Linked DNA regions of Homo sapiens: region 1 is linked to region 2. The links are contacts of gene promoters, found by promoter capture Hi-C in blood cells and fetal thymus (Javierre and others, 2016). All regions are on one chromosome and are shown on one strand. The core of a region is centred on a gene start or on the middle of the fragment in contact, and the rest is flanking DNA. Distances in the headings are between cores, read along the strand shown.

Region 1 (7,207 bases), core at 19-2,518, 2.2 Mb before region 2:
GGGTGATTTTACCTCCCAAGGGACATTTGGCAATGTCCTCAGACATTTTTAATTGTCAGCACTGGCATCTAGTAGGTCGAGGTCAGCAATGTTGCTAAACATCCTCCAATGCTCAAGAAAGCTCCTCAGACAAAGAATTATCCAGCCTATGTCAACAGTGCTGAGGTCTAGAAACTGCTCCGGAGCACAGGGACACTCTTTTGTGTCAGCCTTCAAAACATCTTTTGCAATACTTAGAAACATTTTTTAAAAGAAGAGCATGGGGCAAAAATGCTGGACCAAGCTCATTAATATCTATTGAAGTGTGTTTTGTCATTTAGTGTCCCTGAATGTTTGGGATAAAGTCCCAAATGTAAAATTGAGAAAATAATGCCTTCTTTGTCTACCTCTGTGGGTTGCAAGGATCTGTGGAGGCTCTGTAAGAATGTGAGGAGATAACGCATACGAAAGCCTTGGACATGAAACATCATCCAAAACTCTTGGAGTCCTTGGTGTGAAAATATTAATGTGGGCCACAAGAATTAGATAAAGAAGATCCCACAGCAGGCTTCTTTTTGTTTACCCCGCCTACCTTGTCAGCTTACACCCCCTCTTCCTTCTCTTTATCCTCCCATTTTTGTAAGCGAGTTTGTTCCTGGTATTTACTGCATGGACTAAGCCATTTTTAGATGTATTTTTTGCTGAATATATACTTTTTTGATTTAGTATTTCTTGCCATATTACACCAGACTTAAGGCAGCTAATTTAAATTATATTTTTTCTTTATGTACTTTATACAAACATTCATGGATAGGGGGAGATATTTAAATACCATGCCTTTCTTCAAAATGAATAACAAGAACATTCAGCCCCCTTCATTCTGCCCTTTCAAGGTCTAACGTACTTGAAGGGGCAATACTTGTAGCATTTGCCACATAAATGCCAGGTAGTGTCTTTCCACATCGGGGCTCACCATTACCTAGATCTGTAGTTGCCGGCCATGAAGCCAAACAGGTGTGCACCGTGGTCATTGATGGAACAGATGTAAACTCATAAATTTAGTTTACTGAGGTTTTCGGTGAGTGTGGCTTCCCGTCCGCGTGCTTTTCCTATACAACCAGCGGCGTCCTGGCGGAGGAGTCACTGTGGACTTCCCCGGAGCGTTGTCACTGCCATCCCTCCCGCGGTGAATCACAGGTCGGCCTCAGGTGCGCGCAGCACACACCCGGAGCAGCCGCGGGTTTATTTATTTATTTCCGGGACGGATCCATTCCGGGCTCCGGGGAGGGGGAGCGGCGGCCCAGGCTGCGGGGCTGTCCCGGCACCGGCTGGGGTCGCGCCGCGGCCGCCTGCTCCCTTTCCCGTGAGCCCCCGCTCCTCAGGCGCGGCCGGGGCTGGTGGGGGGTGGGGGATGCAGGAAAGCTGGGGGCGCGGCCACCAAGCTGTCCAGGGACAAGGCCCTGCCGCCTCCTCCCAGCCGGACCCTGGAAGGGTCCACAAAGGTGTCAGGTTCAAGTCCTCCAATAGGCCCATTTTTTAAAAGTGCTTTTAAGTTTCCGCTTTTTTCAGGAGGGGAGGGCAAGAGCAGCTTTTTCTATTCAAATTCTTTTCCTTGTATGTAGATACCAAAAGGAAACTCGGCACTGGGCATGTTCGGATGTGAATGGTTTTGCTGATAAGCAACAGCCTCCGGAACCAAAGCCTCAAAATAGTCGTCTCCCCCGCCCCTCGCAGAAGCGGCGAGTGGTATCTGCCAAACAGATGACAAAGTACCTCCGACTGAATCCCACAGACAGCGCTTTGAGCAGAACGCACGGCTCAACTCATGTAATTACTGTTTATAGCTGGCCGAGCCTGACTAGGAGAGGGCAGACCCGAGAGGAAATCAGTTTCCCGGACCTTTGAGAGGAGGCTGTGTGTTAATTAAAGGCTAGGACGGGACGGGTACTTCTCAGACATGCTCCAAGTTGTTCTTGAGATCACAGTTCCCATCACATTTTCTCTGGAGGGAGTGAGTAGATAATTGGGATTTTTTTTTTATTTTTGGCCTTGTCTTTCTTCCTTTTTTTTACCTCTCCCCATTTTAGTCATATGGCCTTGAACCCACAGTGAATTGAAGAGAGAAAGAAATGGATATGTCTGACCCCAATTTTTGGACTGTGCTCTCAAACTTTACTTTGCCTCATTTGAGGAGTGGGAACAGGCTTCGGCGAACACAAAGGTAAAAACGCGGGGATCTCTGCCTGGAGAGGGAATGCTTTCACTTCCCAGGGGCCCACAGGCGGAGCTGCCTGAGCCCCTCAGGAGCTGGGGTTTTGTGTATTGGGTGACACTTTGAAAAGTTTATGCCCCGCTAGGGGAGGGGGTACTGTTTCAGGTATTTCTTCGTCCTTGTGGTTTCCTGGGTAACCCTGATAAATGTGCTTCTCATAGGTTTTCTCCTTTTGAAATGTGGATAATAAGACATTTCCTTGTGAGAGGTGGGGGAGAAAAAGGGAAAGAGGAGGAGATACTTTGTCTAAGTCTGTCCCTTTGACCTGATCATGTTTATCCATTTCATTCACCCAGTCATTGAGGCTTCTGGTACTTTTCGTTGAGCCCTTCAGATGTTCCTCTCTATTAAATATTTGACCTTTATAAGATGCAGATGTACGATGCAAGGATAGCCCAGGTTAGCTATTTCATACTATCTGTGGAGAGGCAGATCTACATAACTTTGTCATTTTGATTTTTCAATGGTTTGCTGGCATTTATTACTAATACAGGAGTGTCCTTTTCATTTTGTAACGTATATTTGATAGAAAAGATGGGGAAAGAAAAAGAATTTTAATGTCAAGATGAAGCTCATGCCACAAGTGACAGGCAGTTCCAAGAGTTTGCTGACACTTGTGTTGAGAGACTATGACTTTGAAGGAGGCATTTCTCACCACATTTGTGTCCAGCACAGAAAAGTAAGATTGTTGTACTTTTAGAGGGGCACACCTTTTGAGTTGTGTTAATACTGATTCTTTGTTTTCCTTCAAAACTTGCCTTGCATGTACATGTGAACATGCATGAGAGCAACTTTGCAGTCAGATAAACAGGATGCAGGCTCTCAGATTTGGAGCTTCACAATCTCTATGCTTCAGTGTTCAAAGAACCCAAGAAAATGGTTCGTTCTTTTTGGTTATACCTGTAACTTTTTGTAGTATAAATGTGGATATGTGATACTTTAGAAAACTTAGTTTTTCCTTTTGAAGTTTTTCATGGTTTCTTACATTTCAGAAACATCCTGGAATACTCACATACACTGTTTATATACATGGGTGCACACACAAATCACATGTGCACCTGTGTGTATGAGAGAGACATCTGGCAGGTTTCAAAGTCATATTTGCTTTTTGATGCAGTTTGAAGTGTTGATACCACTAAACTATGTTGGATTCTGAAGTTGTACCTTTTAAGTAATGTGACTATGTTTTTCTCGTTCTGCCATATATGGTCAGAGACCCTCTCTTGTAGTATTGCTCATTTTGTAGTATTGCTCATCAAGTTGTGTCAACCATGCACCAAACCTCCAAGACAACTAATAAAGTTGAAGAGAGATACATGCTACACATGAACTAGGCCACTGCTCAACATGGTGATAATTCGTATGATTTCTTACCATTTCAGCTGGACAGAATCCCTTAAATATTTCTGAGTTGTGTAGTCCTGGCTGCGGTACAGCCTCTACTCTTACCTGGAACCAGTTCTTAGGGAGAGAAGTCTGTTCTGGCATCGTATGTGTGTGTCTGAACCCGTAGAGCAGTTGGAGCCTTTCTTCTTCCTACCTACCTGTTGATAGTATTATTGGAGAGAGTCAGATGCAGGAGGATTCTCAGGCTGCTCTGAGCCTGGCTTTAGGGCAGTACCTGTCCAGCCTGAACACTCCAATTCAGACAGCTCACACTGACAGAGAGCCTAGATTCTAAGGAAACCTGAATTCTTCCCAGTAAAATGGGAGAGCATTGGGTGGGCTGTTTCCACCCCAAGTCATGAAACCGTATCTTCAATTTGGCAAAATAGAGAGGGAAGGGGATTTTCTTCTCCCCCTTTTAAGAGTAAAGGTTATGACAGCCTGTTTGTTGCTGGAGATTTTCAGGTTTTGCAGTTTGGAAATAAACATCCCAAAGATCATCTCTACATCCATCGAGTCATTGTCTGTCTCAAAGGGCTAGCATTGCTTTATATTTATTATGTAGATTCAGAAGGCTAGGTATCCTCATCTCCAGGGCAATGTATGTGGCTATTGCATCCTGTTATTATACAGTGATCAATTCTGGCTCCATGTCCTTCCCTAAGGACATGAAACATGTGCTTACATTGTGACTTCTACTTTTGAGATGCCCCTTAACTGTTCTAAATCCTGTTTCCTTTTCCAAGTCTAATGCTGTACCTTACCGGGCTGAGTAGTTTTTCTCCTTTCCAAAGGACCTTTCTGTTCGCAAGTTGTTCTGTTTTGCCATCCTCGATAAGGGTGTCCCCAGTGTCCAGGTGAGGACACCTTGCTGTCATCATCAGTCAGATATGCCTTAACCCTTGAGATATCTCTCATTCCCAAACTTAGTTCCTCTCCTGCACACTTGCTGACTTGTGTGACAGATTGTTCATTTTGAATATTTTATCCCATCTGTTTGTTCTGATTAACATTGTAATCTGGAGGACTTTATCTTAGCTTTTTCTTTAATATCAGCTTCTTGCATCTATCAAAGTAAAATTCAGCTTTGAGCCTATGAATGAGCATCTTAGAACTCATAAGGATAGAATGTTTGTCACACTTAAACGAGAGCTTGAATGGTTTCAGACTCTTACCTTAAACCTTTATTATGGTAGAAATTGTCATCATGGAAACTTTTGGTTTGCTACATTACGTTTGCCTTATAGTTCAATGTGATGCTGGTTTGTTAGTTTGTACTCTCAGAGAAAAATATTGAAGGTTTTTCTTAAAACCTACAGCCCTACTTGTGCCTGTAACTCTTGGGGTTCCTGAGGAAAGAAGCCTACAGACATACTCTCAGGCCTAGATTCTCAAAGATGACACAGTACTGATGAACTGAAAGACTCTGTCCCTTGTGCTACGTCCCAAGGACAGTATATTATGCCCTTCATTCTCTTTTGTCTTGACCATGGCAGACATGAGATTGTTGGGATGCACACTGGCTTTTGTCTACTCTGTTGCTGTATAGCTTACATGTTCCATTGGAAATAGTTCCTTCTATATAACTGGCTTTGTCCTCCTCTCCCTTCCCCTCATTTCCTCAAGGTAGTCTCAGTACAGCCATTCACCTGCTGCTTTGAGGGACAGAAACCTAGGCATAAATGAAGAGACTTTATACGAAAACTTGTTGCTTTAGACTGAAGTAATGATTGCATGTTTCAGAGATTTTCAGTTTCATAGGTCTGTGGCTATTCCATTCATTGAGGATCCTCTCACAACTCAGAATGGAAATTAGTTGGCCTGCATTCATGTCACTGCTTATGTTTATAGCATCTTTTCTTTGCCCATTGGATGAAAAACTTTTGGGGGAAACGAATCAAGCTTCTCTTTTAATTATATCTGCTCTCTGTCACACCTTAAGGAAAGGGCTACAATTGATTTCTAAATGTTGCTGCTAAGTTTTGAGTTGGGCCTTTAGTTTTGCTGAAGTGCAGTCTTGAGAATCCAGAAGATGCTTGTGTTTTAACCTTAATGTTTAGAAATCTGTCATGTTTTCATTTTGCTTAATGATAATCTTTCAACCTTGATGATGCCTAAATCAATAAAACCATTTTCCACGCCGATGGGTAGTTTGTGACTCAGTTCATCACTTTGAGCAAGTTTCCAAATGTCTTTTTCTGAGAACCAAAAAAGAAGTTTTTGGGGTTTTTATTTTGGTAGTTGTTTTTTGCAGAATTCACATTACTCAGTAATTGCTATGAACAGCAGGTACCTTCAGGGATCTTAAACTAAATCCTGTAGTTGTCAGGATGTATTGAATTTTTTATGCATTCGGCATCTTCCCTTCAGATACATCTGTAGTGTTTGATGAGTTTTTCCTTTGTTTTGCTCATGAATATATGTCATGACTATGAGAACTATAGAGAATCCTCTTCCCTCTTGCCCTGGTATTCCAGGTGTTAGTAAACCTGTACTCACCCCTTTTACCCAAATCCCAATTAACTCCACATTTATTAAGCACCTATTGTGTACCTGGGCACTGTGACCCAATTTTGAAAGCTGTAGGCATGCTTTCAATGAAGACAAGTAAATGAATCATTGCAAACCAGGACAATCAAGAAGTATTTACAAGGTACATATAAGCCATAGGAGCTCACATATAAGCTCAGTGAGTAAGAGAGAATTTGGTCTCAGGGAACCAGAAGAGACACCACATAGAAAAGGTTTTGAAAGATATTTGCTGTTGACGAAAGTGAAGAACAGAGCCTTTCCAAGGGGCAGGATAAATGGTGTGTACAAAGGCCTGGTGACCTTGGCAACACAGAGTTCCAGGAACTAGACATGGCTTAGTATTGCTGAAGCAGAGAGTTGGAAGGGGCAGTACTGCACAGTGGTTAAGAGGGTCGTTCTGAAGCCCATTTACCTGGGTTAACATCTTGACTGTATGAGATTGGTTATGTTAACTTTGGACTTCACTTGCTCCGTCTATAAAATAGGGATAAGTATTTATCTTATAGGATTGTTGTAAAGATTAAAATGCATTCATATGTGTAAAATGCTTAATGAAATGACTGGCATGTAAAAATTCTCAATAAATTTTAGCTGTTAATATTACTGCTGTCATTACAAATGAAGATGAGTAGTGGGTGGTGAAGCTGCGGAGGAGAGCTGAGGCGCTTGGCATATGAGGGAGTTTGGTTTTGATCCTGTGCTGGGAAGACATGTCTAGCCACACTGGGGTTTAGGTCTGGGAGTGGGGGTGAGACCTGCAAGCCAGTTAATAAGTTCTTGGGGTAGTCTGTTTAAAAGATTTTGCAGGGCTAGATAAAGAATGAAGTGAGATTGTGCCTTTGAGAGATATGAAGGATATGACGTTGATAGAAGTTGATGAGCCATTGACTCTGAGAGAAGAAGAAATATTCCATGATGGCCCTGGGGTTTTTGACTCCAGGAACCAGGAAGAGGGAGGAACCACCTGTACTTATGAGAGTGAGGCGGGGAAAACACAAGAACCTATATTATACTTGCCCCTTTTTTCCCCTAAAGCTC
Region 2 (6,629 bases), core at 527-3,026:
CAGAGCAAGACTCTGTCTCAAAAAAAAAAAGAATTACCACAGATGAATGGATAAGCAAAATGTGGTATACACATATAATGGGATTTTTTCAGCCTTAAAAAAGAAATTCTGACACATTCTACAACATGAATGAACTCTGAAGACATGCTAAGTGAAACAAGCTAATTACAAAAGGACAAATACTGTTATGGCTCCACGTACATTAAGTACCCACAGTAGTCAAATTCATAGACAGAAAGTAAAATGATAGTTGTCAGAGGCTGAGGGAAGGAGGAATAAGTTTTTGTTTAATGGGTACAGTTTCTGAAGATGGTAACAATTGCCCAACAATGTGAATGTACTTAATGTGACTGAACTGCACATTTGAAAATAATTAAAATGGGGCCAGGCGCAGTGGCTCACGCCTGTAATACCAGCACTTAGGGAGGCTGAGGTGGGTGGATCACTTGAGGCCAGGAGTTGGAGATTAGTCTGGCCAATATGGTGAAACTCTGTCTCTACCAAAAATACAAAAATTAGCCAGGCGTGGTGGCGGGCGTCTGTAATCCCAGCTACTGGGGAGGCTGAGGCTGGAGAATTGCTTGAATCCAGGAGGCAAAGGTTGCAGTGACCTGAGATCACGCCACAGCACTCCAGGCTGGGCAACAGAGCGAGACTCCGTCTCAAAAAAAAAAAAAAAAACCACAAAAACAAAACAAAACAAAACGGGTTAATGGCCTCTCTGTAGTCACTGAATCCCAATAGACCATACCTGGGTTCAGTAATTTATATTTCTAAAAAGATCCCAAGACTTAGAAATCACTGATGTATATCATCAAACACATTGGTCAAGCTTACAATACTATATATAACCTAAGCATTATCACAGAACGTAATGTAACTTTTTTTTTTTTTGAGACGGAGTCTCCCTCTGTCGCTCAGGCCGGAGTGCAGTGGCACACTCTCGGCTTACTGCAACCTCTGCCTTCTGGGTTCAAGCAATTCTCCTGCCTCACCTCCTGAGTAGCTGGGACTACAGGCGCCCGCCACCACGCCCGGCTAATTTTTGTATTTTTAGTAGAGACAGGGTTTTACAATGTTGGCCAGTCTGGTGTCGAACTCCTGACCTCAAGTGATCCGCCCGCCTCAGCCTCCCAAAGTGCTGGCATTACAGGCGTGAGCCATAGCGCCCCGCCCGTAATGTAATTTTGGGGGAAAGATATGAGTGGCTTACATTTCAAATATTTCTGAATTTTTGAGTTATCTCAACTTGAAGCAAAGGCCCAGCAGTTCGATATCAGGAGTAATAAACGGTAAAGAAAACAGAAACAAATTACAATCAAGCAATGCCAATCAGCAAGAGAGTGTGACATGGCCCTTTTTAAGCCAGAGTAAACTCTTGTGAGCTTGCCACTAACTCCCATTTTAACGAAATTATTCATTTTAGGAAACCGCAAGGTTTTTTTTTTGTTTTTCTTTAATTTTTTTAATCTTTGCAAGAGCTGTCAGATAAGAAGGTTGTATTATTTATTTGGTTCCAGATAAAATTTTGAACTATATCGAAATTATAGACTGGCTTTCTGGAAAGGAAATGGTCCTAGACAATTTATAGGCTAATGAGCAGAGACCCACCTTAACAAAATTTTGTCCCCAAAACGAAACAATAGAACACACGTGGGTGGATCCTAGTAGGGAGAAGGGGTGGGCGGGGTCAGGCACAGGGGGCGGAGCCAGCCCCACGGCGGAGGAGAGCCCAGTCCGGTCTCCGCCTCCGTGACGTCCCGGGAAGCACCGCCCACAGCTGCCCGGGACTCCAGTGATCGCCGCGGCTCGCTCGCGCCCCGGAAACTGCCCCTTCTCGGGGGTCATGATGGGCAGCAAGATGGCGTCTGCTAGTAGGGTCGTTCAGGTAAAGCAATTTGTCGCGTTTCCGCATCTTGGGCGGTAGGGACGGTGCTGACTATGGCGACGGCGTCGGGGAGTAAAGGCGGTGGCAGAGGCAGAGCGGTGACCGCGCCTCTGCGGAGGGCCAGTGACGGCGCCCGCGGGTGTGTGTGAGGATGGGACTTTGAGCCTGTTGGACCGGGCAGTGAGGTGGGTCCGGCGCCGAGGGTTCGAGCCTTGCGGCAACCGTGCAGCATCTTGGCAGGTAGGTCCTGTACCTACTGCCGGGATCCCCCGCTCCTCCGCCAGGACCTTGTTAGTCTTAGGCGTGTGCGGGTGAGGCGACCCTGGCGGTAGCCTGGCCAATCGCCGTCTAGGATTGGCTGTGGTGCCCCCGATCAGCCAATCGGAAGGAAGGCGGTAGCGGGGCGTGGAAGGAAGCGAACCCTGGATCTGACCCACTGTCCCTTCAAGGTCTCGGGAATGGTCGGGCAACTGGCCCCGCGTACTGCGTCCTCGCCGGAGCGGGTTCTCCCCAACCTCTCCAAGCGTCTGGCTACAGGCCAGATGAGGGAAATAGAAAAGTAAACTTAAGTTTAATTAGTATGTGTGTGTGTATATTAATGTGTGTGTGTGTGTGTGTGTGTGTGTGTATAAGCGTTGGTTTCACAAGCCTATTTTCCCCTGGTTTAGATAGACAGCTAAAGTAACTTTGTTAATCCACCTATCAGCTACTAACTCCTGATAGCCTTTTTATTTGTTTCTTCAGCTGTGGTTCTAACTTAGGTAAAATTATTATATAAGTGGAACACAACCTCCACTTTTGTGGTTGGTTTACATAGTCTTTGAACCCTGAAACTATATTATTTTATAATTGACTTTTATCTTTGATATGAGAAGTACATTCCGCTTTATATAAGTACATCTCTTAAAAGACCTTTTTCTAAATTCCTGAAATTGTTGTCTGAATGATAATCCTAGATCCCAGTCTTTGGTCCCATTGCAATGAATGATCCTTACTTATTCAGTAGGTAGTTACTGAGCATCAACTAGTTAAAGATTCTGTAAGGACTGAGAGACTGACAAAGGTCTGTTATCCATAATATATAACCATATGTATCAATAATATATAACAATTTAAAAATGGGTAAAAGACTTGGCGTGTTGCACAAAAGATACCCAAATGAGCAATGAACATTTTAAAAGGTGCTCAATATCATTACTTGCCAGGAAAATAAAAATTAAAACCATGAGGTCCTACACATCCACCAAAATGACTAAAATTTAGACGTCAGTGGTGATGAGAATGTGAAGCGTCTGAAACCCTCAATATTGCTGGTGGGAATATAAAATGTTATAGCCACTTTGGAAAGCTGTCAGTCTCTAATAGTTAAGCATGTATCTACCGTATGACCCAGCAATTCTACTCATAGGTTTATTGCCCAAGAGAAGTGAATGCACATACTGTCTCTGTACGTAAATGTTCACAGAAAAAAAAGAGTTACTAGCAAAGAACTGGGGTCCAGAGCTGAGGGGTTCCAGCCTGGCAGCAGGAGTGTGGCATCTCAGCAGGCAGGTACTATATATACTGCCATGGGGTCCCTGGCTCTATTTCTGATAGCCCCCAAACCACAAACAATCTCTATGTCTGTCTTTTGCATAAACAAATTGTGGTAGTTTGTTAAAATAGTACAGTCCAAAGCAATACTAACAGCTGATGTGTGCAAACAAATGAAGAAACTGTGAGATATACAGTAAGGAATGGTCTGTGCCCTTCTAACATAGGAACAAAGACCTGTACTCACCTATTTAGAATTCAAATCAGGTTCGTGATTGCGCTCTTAAAAAAAAAGAAAAAAAGAGAGAATACAACCAATATGCTAATATAATATCACTTGAGCCTAGGAGTTTGACGCTGCAGTGAACCACAATCACCCCACTGCACCCCAGCCTGTGTAACAGAGCAAGACCTGGTCTCGAAAAATAAATAATAAAGTATGTGCTAATATTATGTAATAATTACATATAACATTAGCAAAATTTGTTGAGTATCTCTGTGACAGGCCTATAAAGCTAGGACTACAGTGCCAGTTAGAGTTTAGGCCAGGCTCACTGATGTATGCCTGTAATCCCAACACTTTGGTAGTTTGAGGCAGGAGGATGGCTTGAGCCCAGGAGTTCAAGACCAGCCTGGGCAAAATAGCAAGACCCCATCTCTATAAAAATTTTAAAAAATTAGCTGAGCATGGTGATGTGCACCTGTGGTCCCAGCTACTCAGGAGGCTGAGGTGGGAAGATTGAGCCTGGGTGATCAAGGCTACAGTGAGCCATAATCATGCCACTGCATTCCAGCCTGGACAGTAGAGCTAGACCCTGACTCAAAAAAAAAAAACAAAAAAACATAGAGCTTAGAATTTGGTTGTTGATCCATATCTTGAAGGAAGAGAAGAGTGCCAAAAGACTGATTGGTACAAACTGATAGGAAGTCACAAAGCGTGGTCTCAGAACATTAAGTAAAGACAAAGCCAGCTGGGCACGGTGGCTCACACCTGTACTCCCAACACTTTGGAAAGCCAAGGTGGGAAGATTGCTTGAGCCAGGAGTTCAAGATTAGCCTAGGCAACATAGCAAGACCCCATCTCTATAAAAATTAGCCAGGCAGCCGCCCCGTCTGGGAAGTGAGGAGCGCCTCTGCCCGGCCGCCCCGTCTGGGATGTGAGGAGCGCCTCTGCCCGGCCGCCACCCCGTCTGGGAAGTGAGGAGCGCCTCTGCCTGGCCGCAGTGCAATCTTCCAAGTGTGAAGTGACAGCCTTTCTGCAGGTGTACCCAACAGCTCTGAAGAGACAGCAACCATCGAGAACGGGCCATGATGACGATGGCGGTTTTGTCGAAAAGAAAAGGGGGAAATGTGGGGAAAAGAAAGAGAGATCAGATTGTTACTGTGTCTGTGTAGAAAGAAGTAGACACAGGAGACTCCATTTTGTTCTGTACTAAGAAAAATTCTTCTGCCTTGGGATGCTGTTAATCTATAACCTTACCCCCAACCCCGTGCTCTCTGAAACGTGCTGTGTCCACTCAGGGTTAAATGGATTAAGGGCGGTGCAAGATGTGCTTTGTTAAACAGATGCTTGAAGGCAGCATGCTCGTTAAGAGTCATCACCACTCCCTAATCTCAAGTACCCAGGGACGTAAACACTGCGGAAGGCCGCAGGGACCTCTGCCTAGGAAAACCAGAGACCTTTTTGTTCACGTGTTTATCTGCTGACCTTCTCTCCACTATTATCCTATGACCCTGCCACATCCCCCTCTCCGAGAAACACCCAAGAATGATCAATAAATACTAAAAAAAAAAAAAAAAATTAGCCAGGCAGGAGGGGTAGTGTGTGGGTGTGTACCTGTAGTCCTAGCTACTTAGGAGGCTGAGGTGGAAAGATCACTTGAGCCCAGGAGTTTGACGCTGCAGTGAACCACGATCACTCCACTGCACCCCAGCCTGTGTAACAGAGCAAGACCTGGTCTCAAAAAATAAATAATAAAGTAAAACATTTTCAGACTGGCTAACAAATGAAAATCCAGTGCTATGCTATTTATAAGAGGCATAGCTAAAACTAAGATTTGGAAAGGTAAAAATAAAGAGATAGTCAACTGATCTTTGACAAAACGAGCAAAGGGAATACAATGGAGAAAAGATAGTCTTTTCAACATGGTGCTGAAAAAATTGGATATCCATCTAGACACAGACCTCACGTTCTTCACAAACATTAACTCAAAATGGATCCTAGACCTAAATGCAAAATGCAAAACTATAAAACCCTTAGAATATAACATAGGAGAAAATAAAAATAACCTTAGGTTTAGGAATGACTTTTTAGATATAACACCAAAGGCATGATCCATGAAAAATTAATTGATAAGCTGGACTTCATTAAAATAAAAAATTCTGCTCTGTGAGACACTGTCAAAAAAAGGCAAGCCACATATTGGGAGAAAATACTTTCAAAAGACATATCTGATAAAAGACTATTATAGAAAACATAAGGCTGGGCACGGTGACTCATGCCTGTAATCCCAGCACTTTGGGAGACCAAGGCGGGCAGATCACCTGAGGTCAGGAGTTCGAGACCAGCCTGGCCAACATGGCAAAACCCCATATCTATTAAAAGTACATTTGTATAAGTATATAATACATATTTACATGCCTATACAGTTAGACCTAACTTACAAATGGTTTATTCACGTATTTGGCAACTGTTACTTGGGCATTTACCATGTAACAGGAATGCTACTGCAGAAGTGCTTAGTTTTCTGTCTCTGACTGTCCAGGAGCTTAGTGCTCTTCTATAATCATTGGCTAACTTATCTGTCCTCTGAAAACATAAGGAGAGTTTTTAACTCAGACTTTGGAATTTGGGAAAGGTTCTTAGAGAAGAGTGACATTTGAGCTGTTGTAAAGGATAAGCAGTCAGAAGGATAGGCATGGAAGTGGAATGGGATAGGAGGGAGATTTCATGGCAGAGGACGTAAGCTGTAGATGGAATGAGGATAAATAGGATGAATTGGGGAAAGGAAAAATACTTCAGAATACTTGGAGCAATGGGTACATAAGACAGTAGGGGAGAAAGGCTGGCAAAGTAGGGAGAGGCCAGATCACAATGGGTGTTGTGAGTGCCAAAGAAGAGTTTGAACTTTATCCTGAAAGCTGTGGAACATTTTTCAAACTTCTTTTTTTTCTTCTTTTAAGTTGTAGAGAGGGAGTCTCATCTTCT

What was found. Contacts are between HindIII fragments. The CHiCAGO score rates a contact against its expected background, and 5 or more counts as called.
Region 1: the fragment with the promoter of MAST4-AS1 here is called in contact with the fragment with the promoter of KGD4 in region 2 in 3 of 17 cell types (non-activated CD4 T cells, total CD4 T cells and activated CD4 T cells); the score reaches 9.5 in non-activated CD4 T cells.

Annotation. Positions count from the first base shown.
Region 1 is chr5:67,002,886-67,010,092 of GRCh38, forward strand. It overlaps MAST4-AS1 (MAST4 antisense RNA 1), which reads right to left and starts at 1,269. Exons shown (of 2, transcript NR_111908.1): 1 at 959-1,269. All of the region lies in intron 4 of MAST4 (microtubule associated serine/threonine kinase family member 4), which reads left to right. RefSeq lists a silencer at 1,147-1,486. The HindIII fragment of the contact is 7,419 bases long and covers 1-5,537 here.
Region 2 is chr5:69,215,984-69,222,612 of GRCh38, forward strand. It overlaps KGD4 (alpha-ketoglutarate dehydrogenase subunit 4), which reads left to right and starts at 1,777. Exons shown (of 4, transcript NM_033281.6): 1 at 1,777-1,888. The coding sequence starts at 1,847. RefSeq lists enhancers at 2,059-2,353, 4,002-4,626. The HindIII fragment of the contact is 5,941 bases long and covers 831-6,629 here.